Linked DNA regions of Homo sapiens: region 2 is linked to region 1. The links are contacts of gene promoters, found by promoter capture Hi-C in blood cells and fetal thymus (Javierre and others, 2016). All regions are on one chromosome and are shown on one strand. Each heading gives the region's core, a stretch centred on a gene start or on the middle of the fragment in contact. The rest is flanking DNA. Distances are from core to core; before and after follow the strand shown.

Evidence for each region. Contacts are between HindIII fragments. The CHiCAGO score rates a contact against its expected background, and 5 or more counts as called.
Region 2: a contact is called between a fragment that was not itself captured here and the fragment with the promoter of SNW1 in region 1, in 1 of 17 cell types (non-activated CD4 T cells). The highest score is 5.5, in non-activated CD4 T cells.

What each region holds. Positions count from the first base shown.
Region 1 is chr14:77,757,919-77,765,266 of GRCh38, forward strand. It overlaps SNW1 (SNW domain containing 1), which reads right to left and starts at 3,238. Exons shown (of 14, transcript NM_012245.3): 1 at 3,196-3,238. The coding sequence starts at 3,209. SLIRP-OT1 (SLIRP overlapping transcript 1) reads left to right here and starts at 2,850. Exons shown (of 2, transcript NR_161324.1): 1 at 2,850-3,198. RefSeq lists enhancers at 2,428-3,202, 3,110-3,429, 3,977-4,751. The HindIII fragment of the contact is 7,128 bases long and covers 1-3,556 here.
Region 2 is chr14:81,525,528-81,532,969 of GRCh38, forward strand. It overlaps SEL1L (SEL1L adaptor subunit of SYVN1 ubiquitin ligase), which reads right to left. Exons shown (of 21, transcript NM_005065.6): 2 at 2,174-2,211; 3 at 1,206-1,437. Among named protein-coding and RNA genes, the nearest start is that of SEL1L, 4.6 kb to the right of the region's middle. The HindIII fragment of the contact is 7,046 bases long and covers 1-4,835 here.

The DNA.
Region 1 (7,348 bases), core at 1,988-4,487:
CATCTATCTATCTATCTATCTATCTATCTATCTATCGCAATCAATCAATCACAATTTTTCTCTATTGCAATCAATCAATCACAATTTTTCTCTATCTATCTATCTATTGCAATCAATCACAATTTTTCCGGCTGGGCGAGGTGGCTCACACCTGTAATTCCAACACTTTGGGAGGCCAAGGCAGGTGGATTACTTGAGGCCAGGAGTTCGAGACCAGCCATGCCAATATAGTGAAACCCTGTCTCTATTAAAAACACAAAAATTAGCCGGGCGTGGTGGCGGACGCCTGTAATCCCAGCTGAGGCAGGAAAATCACTTGAACCTGGGAGGTGGAGTTTGTAGTGAGCTGAGATTGCTCCACTGCACTCCAGCCTGGGTGAGAGTGAGACTCTGCCACAAAAAAAAAAAAAAAAAAAAAGAACAAATTTTCGTATGCTTTTATAGAAAATTCTTCTCCAGATCTCCAGATCTTTTCTTTTTTGATTGCTCCTTGCTGGGCAGGGCTATCCCACAGGCAGTATGCCTAGAGTAGCCCCAGATCTTTCAACAGCTTGCATCTCAGCACTCTTGTCTCTGCTCAGTTACCTCTCTCTAGAGCTGTTTTCTGACCACCTTACCCAAAATAGCCACTTCACCCCAAACTCTGAGTCACTCTCTAACCCGGTCTTTATTTTATTCCTAGCATGTATTACGTGAAATTGCATTATGATTTTACTCACTCTGTCCCATTAGAATGTAAGCTAATTAGAATTCTGTCCCACTAGAATTCCAATTCTGTCCCATTAGAGTGTAAGCTCCATGTGGATAGAGTATAAAATTAAAACAAACTCAGTTTCTCCTATTATTTCACTCAACAATCAACAACACACAACACTTCTGATACCAGATGTGTGATGGTTTTTCCCCACATATCAAGCAAGCTATCAACTGTGTCTACTGGACACCAGTCAAGTGTCCTCTAATTCAATTCAATTTTGATGTTATCTACCTGGAGATACTGTCAGATGTTACAGGTTGAAGGCTCAGTCCCACAAGACTGCCCTTACTTCAGATGCCAACAGTAGGTCCAAGGCCACTGGCCAACTAACTACAAACCAGGGTTCCCATGACCTCATCTTCAGGTTCAACTAATTTGCTAGGGCAGCTCACAGAACTCAGGGAAATGTGTTTACTGATTTAAAGGATATTACAAAGAATACTGAGGAACACCAGATGGTAGGTATGGAAAGCTCTGGAGTCCTCAAGACTGGCCATTTAAAGATCGCATTCTGCCACTGCAATTTTAAGCACGCAATACCCATGACAGGCCAGATGATGTGGTGGCTCACGCCAGTAATGCCAGCACTGTGGGAGGCTGAGATGGGTAGATCAGATCAGTTAAGCCCAGTTCAAGACCAGGCTGGGCAACATGGCAAAACCCCATCTCTACTAAAAAAAACAAAAATTAACTGGGCATCATGGCAAGCGTCTAGAGTCCCAGCTACTCTAGGGCGCTGAGGCAGGAGGATCACCTGAGCCTTGGGAGGTTGAGGCTGCAGTGGGCTGTGATTGGGCCACTGCACTCCAGCCTGGGCAAGAGTGAGACCCTATATCAAAAAATAAAATAAATAAAAAATACCCATGACATCTCTAGAAATTTTTCCTGTGTGTCCATTTCAAATTCCACCTTTTCCACAAAGTCTCCCCTCATAACTTTACTAGTCTATGACACAGTGTCTCACACCTGGGGAGCACTCAAATGTTTGCTGCCTGTAACATTTACTAAACAAACTCTTGGCTGGGCATGGTAGCTCATGCCTGCAATCCCAGCACTTTGGGAGGCCTAGGTGAGAAGATTGATGGAGGCCAAGAGTTGGAGACCACTCTGGCCAACGCAGTAACACCCTATTTCTAGTTTTTTTTTAAAAAAATTTCAGATGCCGGGCATGGTGGCTCATGCCTGTAATCCTAGCACTTTCGGAGGCCGAGACAGGAGGACTGCTTGAGGCCAAGAATTCAAGACCAACCTGGCCAACACAGCGAGACCGCATCTCAAAAAATAAAGTTAAAAAAAAAAGCAAAAAAATTTTAGAAACGAGGGTGGGGAGAAAACTCTCCAGCCCACATAACTTATTCCATTCAATTCTTTTTGCACTAAGGTTAGTATTACACAAATGCACATTTTGTGTTCTGTAATTGTTTTATGTCTGTATACCTTGCACCCCTATCTTCCCTGTTGCCAAAGACAGATTTTCTTCTGTGTACACAACCCCCAGGACAGAGCAAGGCACCAACAGTAATTCCCAAAATAATTTTTTGATTAAAACTTTTGGAGTCATACTGTCATCAGCCAGAAAAAAAAACATGCGTGAGGAGAATGAAGGGTGTTAAAAGAGCTCAAGCTGATGTCCTGAAAGGATTACTTTATCTATAACCTTCCTGAACACTAGCCTTTTCCTGTTGAGTTCGCATGGAAAGTTTTTCCACTTAAAATGGGGCAGCAAGGCTGGGAACTAGTAGGAGTAGCGTAACTTCTCGGACTCTCCCACTGAAAAGCATCTTTTTCTTAAAGGCGGAGAGCACTTTACAGACGGTTACTAAGGTAACCGGAAACAGCAAAACTGAGGTGGTTCTATCTACGGAAGAAATTCTAAGCTCCAAAGTTAAAATGCGGAGCAGTGGCGCATATCAGCAGACGGCGGTCACTACTGTGGCTCATTTAAATCTGTGTTCAGCTCCGGGCCTCTTTTTTCAGGAATCCTTGTTTCGGGACACCCAGTGGACAGCGAAAGGAGAGAGACCACCACAGGCAAACGGCCGGAAAGCCGCGCAGTCGCAGCCCGCGCGCTTCACTCCGCCCAAATAAGCCACTACCGTCACCAACCCCATCTCGTTCGCCCGAGCCGCGGACCTGAGGGAGCGCTGTCCGCTCCCCGCAAGATGCTCACGCGAAAAACCCACTCTTCAGTGTCTGAGACCACTCCGCAGCTTTCGGCCTCGGTGAGCGGGTGAACTAAACCCGGGAAACCGCTGAAAGACCCCAGCTTCGACTAGGCCTAGTCGTAGCGGCGGCCAGCGGGAGGGCGTAGCCGTAGTCTTGGCCCACGTCATTCTGTGCCCCGGGTCAGGTCACCGCCCGGAGGGTATGGGAAGAGAAATGAAGAAGACTGGTACTCCCAGACCCTTCCGTATCGAGGACCCCAATCAACAACCCACCTGGTGAGCGCCATCTTCTTCCGCTTCTTCCAGCGCGAGCGACAGCACCGCTGGGCGGGTCTTTCCAGATGATGAGGAGCGGAAAGGAAGGAGTGCGCGATGCGCAGGCGCTCTGGCCGAAAAGGCCTTCTGGGATTTGTAGTTCTTTGAACAGGAGTACCGTTTGTATTCTGACCAGACCAAGCGGTTATCAAGGAATAATCTCTTCAGCTAGCAACAAATGCATAACTCGATCGCTTATATGCGACATGATAGGGCGTTCCCTAGGCAAAATATCAAAGATACAGGGAGATGCCTTTTAGGCCGCTTTATTACGTTCCTTACTCAGTCCCGTTCCCCGAGAAGGGGTACAAAATACAAAAGCTTCCCGGGGACAGCTACTTTAAGTAAGAGTGATAGGGCGTTTAAAACGACAGGTAATAATGAGACTAGCTAATGGAGAGTCCTTGGACTCTCTGAAAACATTCACACTCAAAACTTTTCTTTAAACCATATCCTCTCACCCGCCAAAACACTCTCTTGGGGAGATATTTCGTAATCCTTGGTAATTTACCGAGTGTCTGGGTTCTCTGCCCAGGGTATGACAAGGCTGAAATCTCATAGGAGGCTCTGGAGAAAAATCCATCTCCTAACTCATTCTTGTTGGCAAAAATCAGTTCCTGGCGGTTGTGGGATCGAGTTCCCTGTTTTGTTTTGTGCTGTTAGTGGTGGCCACCCTCAGCTCCTAGGGGTCACTCTCGAGTCCTTCCCACATGAGCCCTATTTATTGGTAGTTCACAACATGGATATTTGCTTTCTGAGGCACATCTTTCTGACTCCTCTTCTGCCACTGTTGGAGAAAAATGCCCTGCTTTTAAAGGGCTCATGTGATTAGATCAGGAGCACCTGGATAATCTCCCTATTTTAAGATCAACTCTTGGCCGGGCGCAGTAGCTCACACTTGTAATCCTAGCACTTTGGGAGGTCGGGGCGGGCGGATTGCCTGAGCTCAGGAGTTCGACAAAGCCTGGGCAACATGGTGAAACCCTGTCTCTACTAAAAATACAAAAATTAGCTGGGCGTTGTGGCGCGCTCCTGTAGTCCTAGCTACTGGGGAGGCTGAGGCAGGAGAATCGTGTGAATCAGGAGACGGAGGTTGCAGTGAGCCAAGATCACGCCACTGCACTCCAGCCTGGCGACAGAGTGAGACTGCGTCTCAAAAAATAAAAATAAATAAATAAATAAATAAATAAATAATATAAAAGAATAGCTGGGTGTGGTGATGTGCTCTTGTTTTCTCAGCTACTTGGGAGGCTGAGGTACAAGAATCGCTTGAACCCAGGAGGTGGAGGTTGCAGTGAGCCGAGATTGCACCATTGCACTCCAGCGTGGGTGACAAAGTAAAATTCTGTCTCAAAAAAAAAAAAAAAATCAACTCTGCCACACCGCATAACAGAATCAGAATCTTCATAGTCATGGCCCCAGGGGTTATGTAGGTCAGGTACTGTGGGGGTTGGGTGAGGAGGAGATCTTGGGGGATATCCTAGAATTCTGCCTGCCACAGCATGTAAACCAAAAAAACAAAAAGAAAAAATCTTTTGGTAAATACAGGATTGTTAATCACATTGTGTAATATAACCTGCATGGCCTGGGAGCCCGAAGATTAGAGTTTAAGATGTAGCTTTGGCTGGGTGTGGTGGCTTGTGCCTTTAATCCCAGCACTTTGGGAGGCTGAGGCGGGCAGATCACCTGAGGTCGGGAGTTTGAGACCAGCCTGACCAACATGGAGAAACTGCGTCTCTACTGAAAATACAAAATTAGCCGGGCGTGGTGGTGCTTGCCTGTAATCCCAGCTACTCGGGAGGCCGAGGCAGGAGAATCGCTTGAACTCGGGAGGCGGAAGTTGTGGTGAGCCGAGATCGTGCGTCGTTGCACTCTAGCCTGAGCAACAAGAGTGAAACTGTCTCAGAAAAAAAAAAAAAAAAAAAAAAGATGTAGCTTCAGCACCAATAAATTCTTATAGGGCAAGTCATTTAATTTATTTGGGCCCCAGTTTTATTGAACTTAAAATGCTGATCATGTTATCTGCTTTACCTATATTTATATAAATGTAAAATAATTATATACAATACAGCAGAGTATGAGCCTTAAATGAGGTAATGTAGGTGGATATGTTTTTACTTAACTCTTAAGTACTATGTAAATATGTTAGTTATTACAGTTAATATTTTGGTTGACAGTGATCTACTTCAACCTCTGCTCCAGGAATGTATTATTTCTAAAAGGAGAAAAACAGAGAAGCAAATTATAGAACGTCCTGGAAGCCAAGATCAAGGAGCTTAGATTTAGTTCAGCAGGTGATTTGCAGCTGAAGGAGGACTTAAGTAGAGGGCCTGGGTCAAAGGAACAGGCAAGAAAGACAATTCTTAAGGCAGAATGGGTTTCTATGGCAATGAGAGACAAAGGAGGCTACTGAGGACAAGGTTAAAATAATTAACATGGGAAATCAGTAAGACATAGACCAAGACCTGGGATGCAGGATTGAAAGAACAGGGTGGAGAAGAGCTTTTGCAATCCACTCTCATTTTCCACAGAGGCACATCATGCAAGGCATTTCCACCAGTCATAGTCCCTCGCTGTTTTGGGGGTGTGTAAAGAATAGAAACTGACTTTAATAGCAATCCTATCAAAACAATTAAGAAAGCAAATCTACTGCAAACGTGATACAATATTATACCCAAAGGCCTAGTGCTTTCTTTGGTTTTGTTGGGGAGGGGGTTTGGTGTTAAGCTATGCTGAATCTTCAGTGCCTATCCATCCCTCATTATCATAGGTAATTAGCAGCTGCCTGCTCATGTAGAGAGCCCAGTGCATGCTGGAATCAGTAATGCGCCAGGTTGCAAGAAGCAATCAATTCACTCCAGTCTTAGAATTCTGGATAGAGAGTAGAATTGTTCTCAGAGAACCTAGGGCCTAATTTGATTCCTAAGTAGGTGTGGCTATGTAGCCACAAGTAATATAGCTTGTGAGGTGGTAGGGAGGACAAGTTAAGCACATATTCTGGAGTCAGCTTTCCTGCCTTCTGATCCCAGCTCCCTAATTTATGAGCTGTAGATTCTGGATAAGTCACTTCTCTCTGTCTCAGTTTTCTCACTGGCCAATAAAAAGGGTGAGGGGCGTGGAATCAGTATAACTTATCCTCAATAAAGCTATTGGGAGGATTAAATGAGTTAATCATGTGAAGTGCTTAGAAAAATGCCCAGCATAGAGTAAGCGCTCAAAAATTAATTATGCTTTCTGGCTTTAATGAATTGGCCTTAATTTATTAAGGTTCAGGTTTTGCATCTGCAAAGTGAGGCAGTTGAACTCAATTTTATTTCTGGGGTACCTTCCCACTAACATTTTCTACTATAGGATGTTTTTTTAAATTTACTTCAATGCCAGTATTTTATGCTCTGATGCCATTATGCTTTAGTTATTATGGCTATATTATTATAATCATTCTCTGATAAAAAGTAGAGCTGCTCCACCACACCGTTCTTACTTTTTGGATGTGTTTTACGTGCCCTCTCAATGTTTAAAATTTTTTTTTAATTAAAATATTGGTTTGCATTAAAGCATAGTTAAAAAGGCTAGAGCCAATGATTACTTAGGAACTGCGAAAGAAATAACGTATCTTTACGATGGAGAGATTTGGCTGTCATCACTTTTGCTTCACTAACAGTGGAACAATCTGACACTAGGTGCTTTTAATAGGAAGTTCCCCAGTTTTCTTTCTTTCTTTCTTTCTTTCTTTCTTTCTTTCTTTTTTTTTTAGACCGAGTCTTCCTCCGTTGCCCAGGGTGGAGTGCAGTGGTGCGATTTCGGCTTACTGCAACCTCTGCCTCCCTAGTTCAAGCGATTCTCCTGCCTCAGCCTCCCGAGTAGCTGGGATTACAGGCATGAGCAAGCACGCCTGGCTAATTTTTGCATTTTTAGTAGAGATGGGGTTTCACCATGTTGGCCAGGCTAGTCTTGAACTCCTGGCCTCAAGTGATCCACCCACCTTGGCATCCCAAAGTGCTGGGATTACGGGTATGAGCCACTGCACCTGGCCGGAAGTTCACCAATTTTCTGATCAAACCAGACCTAATGTCCAGTTCACAAGAAATTCAGGGGATAGAGTAACAAGTTT
Region 2 (7,442 bases), core at 63-2,562, 3.8 Mb after region 1:
AGGTATTTTCAGAGGAAGTAAACAGAATCACTTTTCTGAAGAACAATTTAACAATGTGTATCTACTGTCTTTTAAACTTTTACATCCAATTCAGCAAATTTACTTTAAGAATTCTAAGGAAATTTTCACAGATAGGCACAAAGATACATCTAAAATGATCTCCCAGCAAAACATAAACGTTTTGGTTTATGGTACCATATATTTACAAATAAAATTTTTTATAGCCATTAACTATCAAATTGAAAATAAGCTAAATGACATGGAAAAACATTCATGGTAAACTGTTAAGTGCAAAATGCAGGCTGCAACATAGAATACACATTTTGACCCAATTTACTTTTCTTAAAACTACTGATACACCTAAAAAAATCCTGAGAGAATATTCTCCATGATGTGAGCAGCTGTTATTTCTAGTTGATGGGATTCAGGTACTTTTAATTTTTTAAAAATAGTTTTCTATTCATGAGAATGGTATATTTGTAGTAAAAAAAAATTCTATTTTTTTAAAAAGTTCAAATTTGGATCAGTTCCTGAGAGTGGTTAGTAATGGAATAATAAACAGATAAGGCAGTGATCATTGAAATAATAAATGACAGAAGGGCAACAAGACATGGTAGAATGCATACATTAATAATTTTTAAAAGGATTAATATTTAGAAGACTATTGTGAAAAAGGTCAAGTTTTAAATTGAAAAGTAGAGGTTTCAAGATTGTGAAAGTTAGAATAGGATGGAAGTACACACAAGCGTCAGCTGAGGGATAAACACCTAAATCAAATTACCTAGGATGATCGACAAGGTTATTGTAGTAATAATCCTACCACAATCCTGAAAATAACCATAGTGGCATGTTAGACAGTTCTTCCTGAGTTTCTGTTTTGTATGCTACCCTGACATATTATTTTTTTAAATTTCTCAGTGAGAAATGTATTTACATACTTGATTCCAAAAAGAAACGTCAGGATATTAATAAAAAGATAAATGCAATCTCATCTATTGAATTCAGCTTATGTAACTTGGGTCAAATCTGTTAAGTGAATAACTTTGGTATATTAAAATCTAGAAATTCTCTCCAAACTACACTCCATATATTATTTGTGGGTAATAATCAGTGAAGCCAGTCTTCTTCAGCCTCTTTATTCATTAGCTTAAAATTTTCAGTTGTCCCCTAAATAAATCAAAAAGCAAGGAAAATGTCCAGACTACCTGGTTTCCGTACTTTCTTTGGCTCTTCATAGTCCTTGTTTTCTGGATTTGGAGACTCTAGAAAGCTGATATCTTCTGTGACACTTTCCCCCTCTTGGCTCTTGAGGCTGTCTTCCTCTTCTTGAATAGAGGATTCTAATTCAGATTCTTCTGAATCAAGAAATATTTGACCAGCAACTACTCTGCCTGCAGTAGTATGGTCCTTTACTGACTCATCTGATGTCAAAGTAGTCTGAGAATATAAAGTATTTTTAGTTATCAACAATGCCAAGACTTTCCCCAACCCTATTTGACCGTTATTTTTACTAATCCAGATATCACATCTCCTTCAGCTCCTTGAAGTGCCACACTCACTCATCTCTATAGGCTTTGGCATGTGTCCATCACGTGCCTTCCTTCATCACCTAACTTGTAGCCTTTTTGAATTTCAACTTAGATGTTACTTCCCCCAGAAGCCTTCCTTAATTCCCAAAGTCTGGGTTCGGTTTTCCTCCACATGCCCCCAACATACCTTATACTTCTACTTCCTGCTTTTATCTACATTCCCTCAAATCTAAAGATCAGAGCTCATAACTGACTGCAGGGTTGGGCTTGGTTAGTACTTGGAAGGGAGAGCTCAATCAACCAATAAGTGCATTAGCTCACTGGATTTATTTTTGAGAACTGGAAAGTGGAAACAAATGACACAGGTTAAATCTTCAAACTTACACACACACACACACACACACACACACACACACAGAGCACATTCAAGTTGAAATGAAATATTTACTATTCCCTCTTGTAGGTCAGTAATTTTTTCTTCCTCCAGAAAAACTAGAACTAATACTAATACCATCTGTCTTTTTCTGTCCTTTTTAATTCAACTGTTACTCAAAAGTTGCAGACCTCATATCCTTTCTAAGATACATAATTCATCCTTTTAAATCAGGCAGCAAATACTGGCCAATACACATTTTAGTACATACCTTGGAATCTAAGGATTCATCCTGGCTGCCTTCTTCATCTGCAAAGAAATTTTAAGACAATTTAGTAATCTTTCTTGTTGGGAAATTAGTTATTATTAAAAGAAAACATGTGAAAAGTATAGCAAATAATAATCAAACATTGGATAAATAAACATAGAATTATTTTAAAGTTAGCTATATTCAGCAATTGTTCAGAAAAGATCAAGTGAAAGGAAAAAAAAAATGGGTTGGGGGTTTAGTTTCTCTCTTTCTCCAGAAAAGACATTAGCTCCATCTGTTACAAAGGTAGGAAGACCAACAGCCTCCACCAACAAAAACAGGTATTTCTTCACATTCCATCCAATTCTTGTGGGTCTATTTAGTCTATTTCTGAGAATGAGTTACTAAGTTCATAAAAATAAATCTCTAATTTCATACTCCGGGCTTCCACCTATTCTGTTTGTCTGCTCAGGATCTTGAGTTAGAGTAGCCCATTTTAGTGCTCATTAGTATTTGTATTGTTTACTACTATAGTAAGGATGGAAACTAAGAATTATTATTTGATAGCAGAGTTGCAAAACAATTATATTTAGGATTTGTGTTCTACTCTACTCAGAGATAACCAGATGCAGGTAAAAAGCAGCATGGTCCTATCATATATTCACTCAATTGAGAGCTATGTAGTAAGAAATCAATAACTTACATTAAACAATGAAAAACAGCCACCGGTTACACCTTGCTTACACATTCACACAGCCTGCTTTGGTGTTGTCTGATTACATTAATTTTCCTTCTGTTACTTTTTCCATGTTTTCTGACTATTACTTTTCTGGCTGCTTGTTACTCTTCTTCCTGCTCTTACATAAACACATGCAACAACTCAATGTTCAGATGGAAATGCTTGATTTTTGTATTCCTTGCCAGTTTAAAACAGCGAATCTGTCAGATCATCTTTAAGTTTCCCTCTTGCTCTTAAAATTACCTGATTTTATTCAGGAGTGAGTTTCAGTTTTACCTGCTCCATAAGCTGTATGAGAAATTAACCAGTAGACAAAACCCTGTAAGACCATGTCATTTTTTACTAGAAAATTTGCTACTATAGTTGTCATTTATACTTTACTTCATATGGCTATATCCTAAATATCATTTGTAATTTGCAACTCTAAAATATAACAAAAAACCTGTGTTAGAGTTTGTTATCAAAGTACTGAGTTAAGACTAAGAAGTATAACCAACTCAATTATGCACAAAATACAAGACACTACCTCACAATATTTCTTTCGAATATTTGAGGAAACTAGTCCATTAGTGAGGTTTTGCCATATATGAAAGTGCTGTCAAGTCAAAGAAAATTTAAATTACAGCTACTATTCATATTCACCTACTTTTAGATTACCTTCAAAGTATGTTTTACTTCTGGCAGGTGGAGAGAAGGGTATGCCACATATTAGTCCCACAGCGCCCATAACATTAGGCAATGATGTCAGTTAATTAACAATTGTCCTTCATGCTAACTTCTTCACAAGTATTACCCAAAGCCCAATTTCTAACATGTGGTTCAAATTCCATTCTCAGCAAATCTTTAGATAAATTTAAAAAACCCATCTCTATAATATATCAAAGTTGTACTGTAAGTATATGTAATTAATCACAAACTTCAACTAGTTAATATATCAAAACAGATATTAAATGTTTAAACATATATGAAATACCCCCAAATACTGAATGAAACTTTAGATTAGCTGGAACTCTAAATCACTATCACTACATTGCTACATTTAGTACCTCACCACAACAGGTTACATAGGTAGCTAACAGGTGAATCATATGGACACATCTGTAAATACACTTAAAGACATGTACATTTCACACAGCACAAGCTGTTAGGCATTAGAGTAGCAAAACGTGTTTTCAAACTCCAAGAAACATGATTTGTAACATCAGAGTTATTTCATGTGAATTGCATCATGCTTCTCTTTCTCTCCCTCTCTCTTCGCAACCTGGACTATATGCTAATATTACTGGTGAATAAGATAATTCTCAGTTACTAAACTGGGAAAGCCTACTCCAGATGGTAGTCTCAAAGCATAAGCTATTTTCTTTTTCAAACTGATATAAACATTCACACAACACTTTTTAAAGAGTTGTTTATAACCTAGGAACTTCTGATAAGTAGTATTCAGGTAAGGATTAAAGAGACTGAAGTTATGCATAAATAAAAAGCAAACAGTAATGTTTTCATCAGAACACAGATATCAAGCAACAAGAAAAAAATGCAAAAGGATTAAGTTATGCGCTTCTCGCTCATCAGCATCACATCCAAATGGTTCATATTATTTTATTAACTGTACACCTTCCTTTGAAAAGGACCAGTTTTTATTTTTATTGTATTAGCTAACAAAACTGCAAAGTACCAGAGATATGCTTTCAGGGAAAAGTGATCACTACAAAATCATTTTTCCATTCATCACGTAAATTAAACAGACTGATAACCTTTAAACACAGAAAGTCTAAATAGTTTGGTGAAAACAGACCAGATATCCTGTTCTCTGCTTTAGCTCTAAATTGGTACAGATCCTAAGATACTCTCGATTCTAAATTTCTTCAATTCTGAGACCTGGAGAGCTAGGTCTGGAACCTGGCTTCATCACATGTTAATTCTGACACATGGTTCAGTAACAAAAGCTTGCTCAGCCTCTGTTTCTCAATCTGTCAAAAGGGGTAACACCTCTGTCCCGCTGACTCACAATATTTTAAGGAACGACCAAAACAGTGAAATTAAACATCCTCTGCTGTCTGAAAACTACTCTCTGAATTTATAATTATTACCTGAAATACCTGGCAGTGGACCTAACTAAAATGACTAACACTGCTTGGCACAAAGAAAAAAAAAGGTTAAGCCATTTGCCTCTTCTGCCAAAAATAAGAAAGCATGCATTTGTGAGAAAAATTATAACCTTTTCACTATTATCCTGAGAAAATGAAGAAATATCTTTTTAGTGTCCTCCTTTAAATTTATTAATAGAAAAGAGAAAATGTTTCTAATATTAGCCATGTGTCAATGACGAGGATATGTTCTGAAAAGTGTATCACTGGGCGATTTCCTTTTTGTATACTTAAACCTAAATGGGATAGCCTTCTACATACCTGGGCTACATAGTGTAGCCTGTTGTTCCTAAGCTACAAATCTGTACAGCATGTGACTATACAGACTACTGTAGGCAACTGTAACATAACAGTAAGTATTTGTGTACATAAACATAGCTAAACATAGAAAAGCTACAGTGAAAATATGGTGTAAAAGATTACAAAACATATACCTGTCTAGGGCACTTACCATAAATGGAACTTGCAGGATTAAGAGTTGCTGTGGGTGAGTGAGTGAGTGAATGTGAAGCCTAGGATGTTACTATACACTATTGTAAACACTGTACACTTAAACTACACTAAATTTATTTTTTAAAAAGTGTGCTACCATGTTCCAATGGCTACAATGTCACTAGGTGACAGGAATTTTTCAGCTCCATTATATTCTTACAGGGCCACCATCTTACATGGGGTTCATTGTTGACCAAAATGTCATTATGTAGCATGTGACTATATCATATTTTTACATGCTTCTAAAACATGATACTAGCTAACAGCTATCAACAGCAATAGAATCAAGATTCTCTTTGTTGGCTGACCATACTCCACCTGGAGAGATGCGACCTGCCCTGGGTAACCACTAATGTTCAAACACAAAATTATAACCAAAAACTTGATTTTAATACTGGAGTAAAACTTTAAACTTTGAGGCCGAAACCCTGTGAATGAAAATCACAATTGAAAATCCATAGCTTAATTTACACAACTTTATTTAACACAGGGTTGTTTTTTTTTCTTTTTTTTTGAGACAGGGTCTCGCTCTATTGTCCAGGCTGGAGTGCAGTGGCATAATCACAGCTCAGTGCAGCCTCAACCTCCTGGGGCTCACTCCATCCTGCCACCTCAGCCTCCCGAGTAGCTGGAACTACACGTGTGCACCATCACACCTGGAGTTACGTAGAGATGGGGTTTCGCCATGTTGCCCAGGTTGGTCTTGAACTCCTGGGCTCAAGTGATCCTTCCACTTCAGCCTCCCAAAGTGCTGGGATTACAGGTATGAGCTGGGCCCGCACAGGTGTTTTATGATATATGAACTTCATGTGAGCACAGCACTGCCTTTATTACCTTTTAGCATGCACATCTACATTGTTTTAGTTCTGGCTAAGGCTTCTGCCTTTACCATTGAAATGTTGTGGCACAGCTTTAACTATGATGGAAATCAGAGCAGACATTTCTTGAATACAGTCCTCTACCTACATCAATACAACCCAAGGATTTAATATATCAGTGTTAAGTCTTTTATTACAACATCCTGAAAGCCCCAACTGTTGATCTTCAAATATCTTTTCCACTGGCATGGAGCTCTAAGTATATAAAATGCAGTCAAAGACAGACAGCACAATTCCTATGCTTTAATTTTCTTTAAACTCTGCCAATTAAATTCAGAGGGATACACACCGTGCTCTTTCATTACTGTAGTTCTCTTTAGTGTGAAGAATCCCTCATGGAGATTGTTAATCTATGTATACCTGAGCTGTTCCAGACCTAAAACCCAATGTTTAACAAACCCATAAGAGGAATTCTGATGCAGGAGGTCCATGGTCCAGCAGGTACTCTACTCATTAAGCTCAACAGCTTCATTTCATGCTTTTTGATCAAATATTAAATAACTGCTAAAAGTGCTTCGAGAGTTAAGTATAGTCTAAAGATCTGGTCATTAACTCAAACCATCACTACTACTGGAGGGAGGGGAGTGGACCTGAAAGAATGATGTTGGCAGTAAAGTAATTAGCATAGGGTTGGTGCTTTTGAAATGGTATCTCAAACCACATCATGGATAGAATTTAGGTTTAAGCCTCTTATTTTAGAAGCAGAATGACGTTATGGCATTGATTTACAACTAGGACAGGTAATTTGGGGATTCAGATAACCATCTGGGAAATTTTCTGTTAAAAAAAAGCTGACATTTATTAAAAAAAGAAAAAGCTGACATTTATACTCCGTGTTGTCCCCCCAAAACGTCAAGCCACAGAACACCTGTCCTGTTAACTGAAACTGATTAAAATTCCAAAGTTTTACTGTACTAATTTTTATTTATCAACACTTAGAAACACGAAGTTTTCATGAACACTCTCAAAATGGAAATTTTCAAATGTAGGCAGATTAAAACATTAAAAAAGGGGGAAAAAAGCAGAACCAGAAT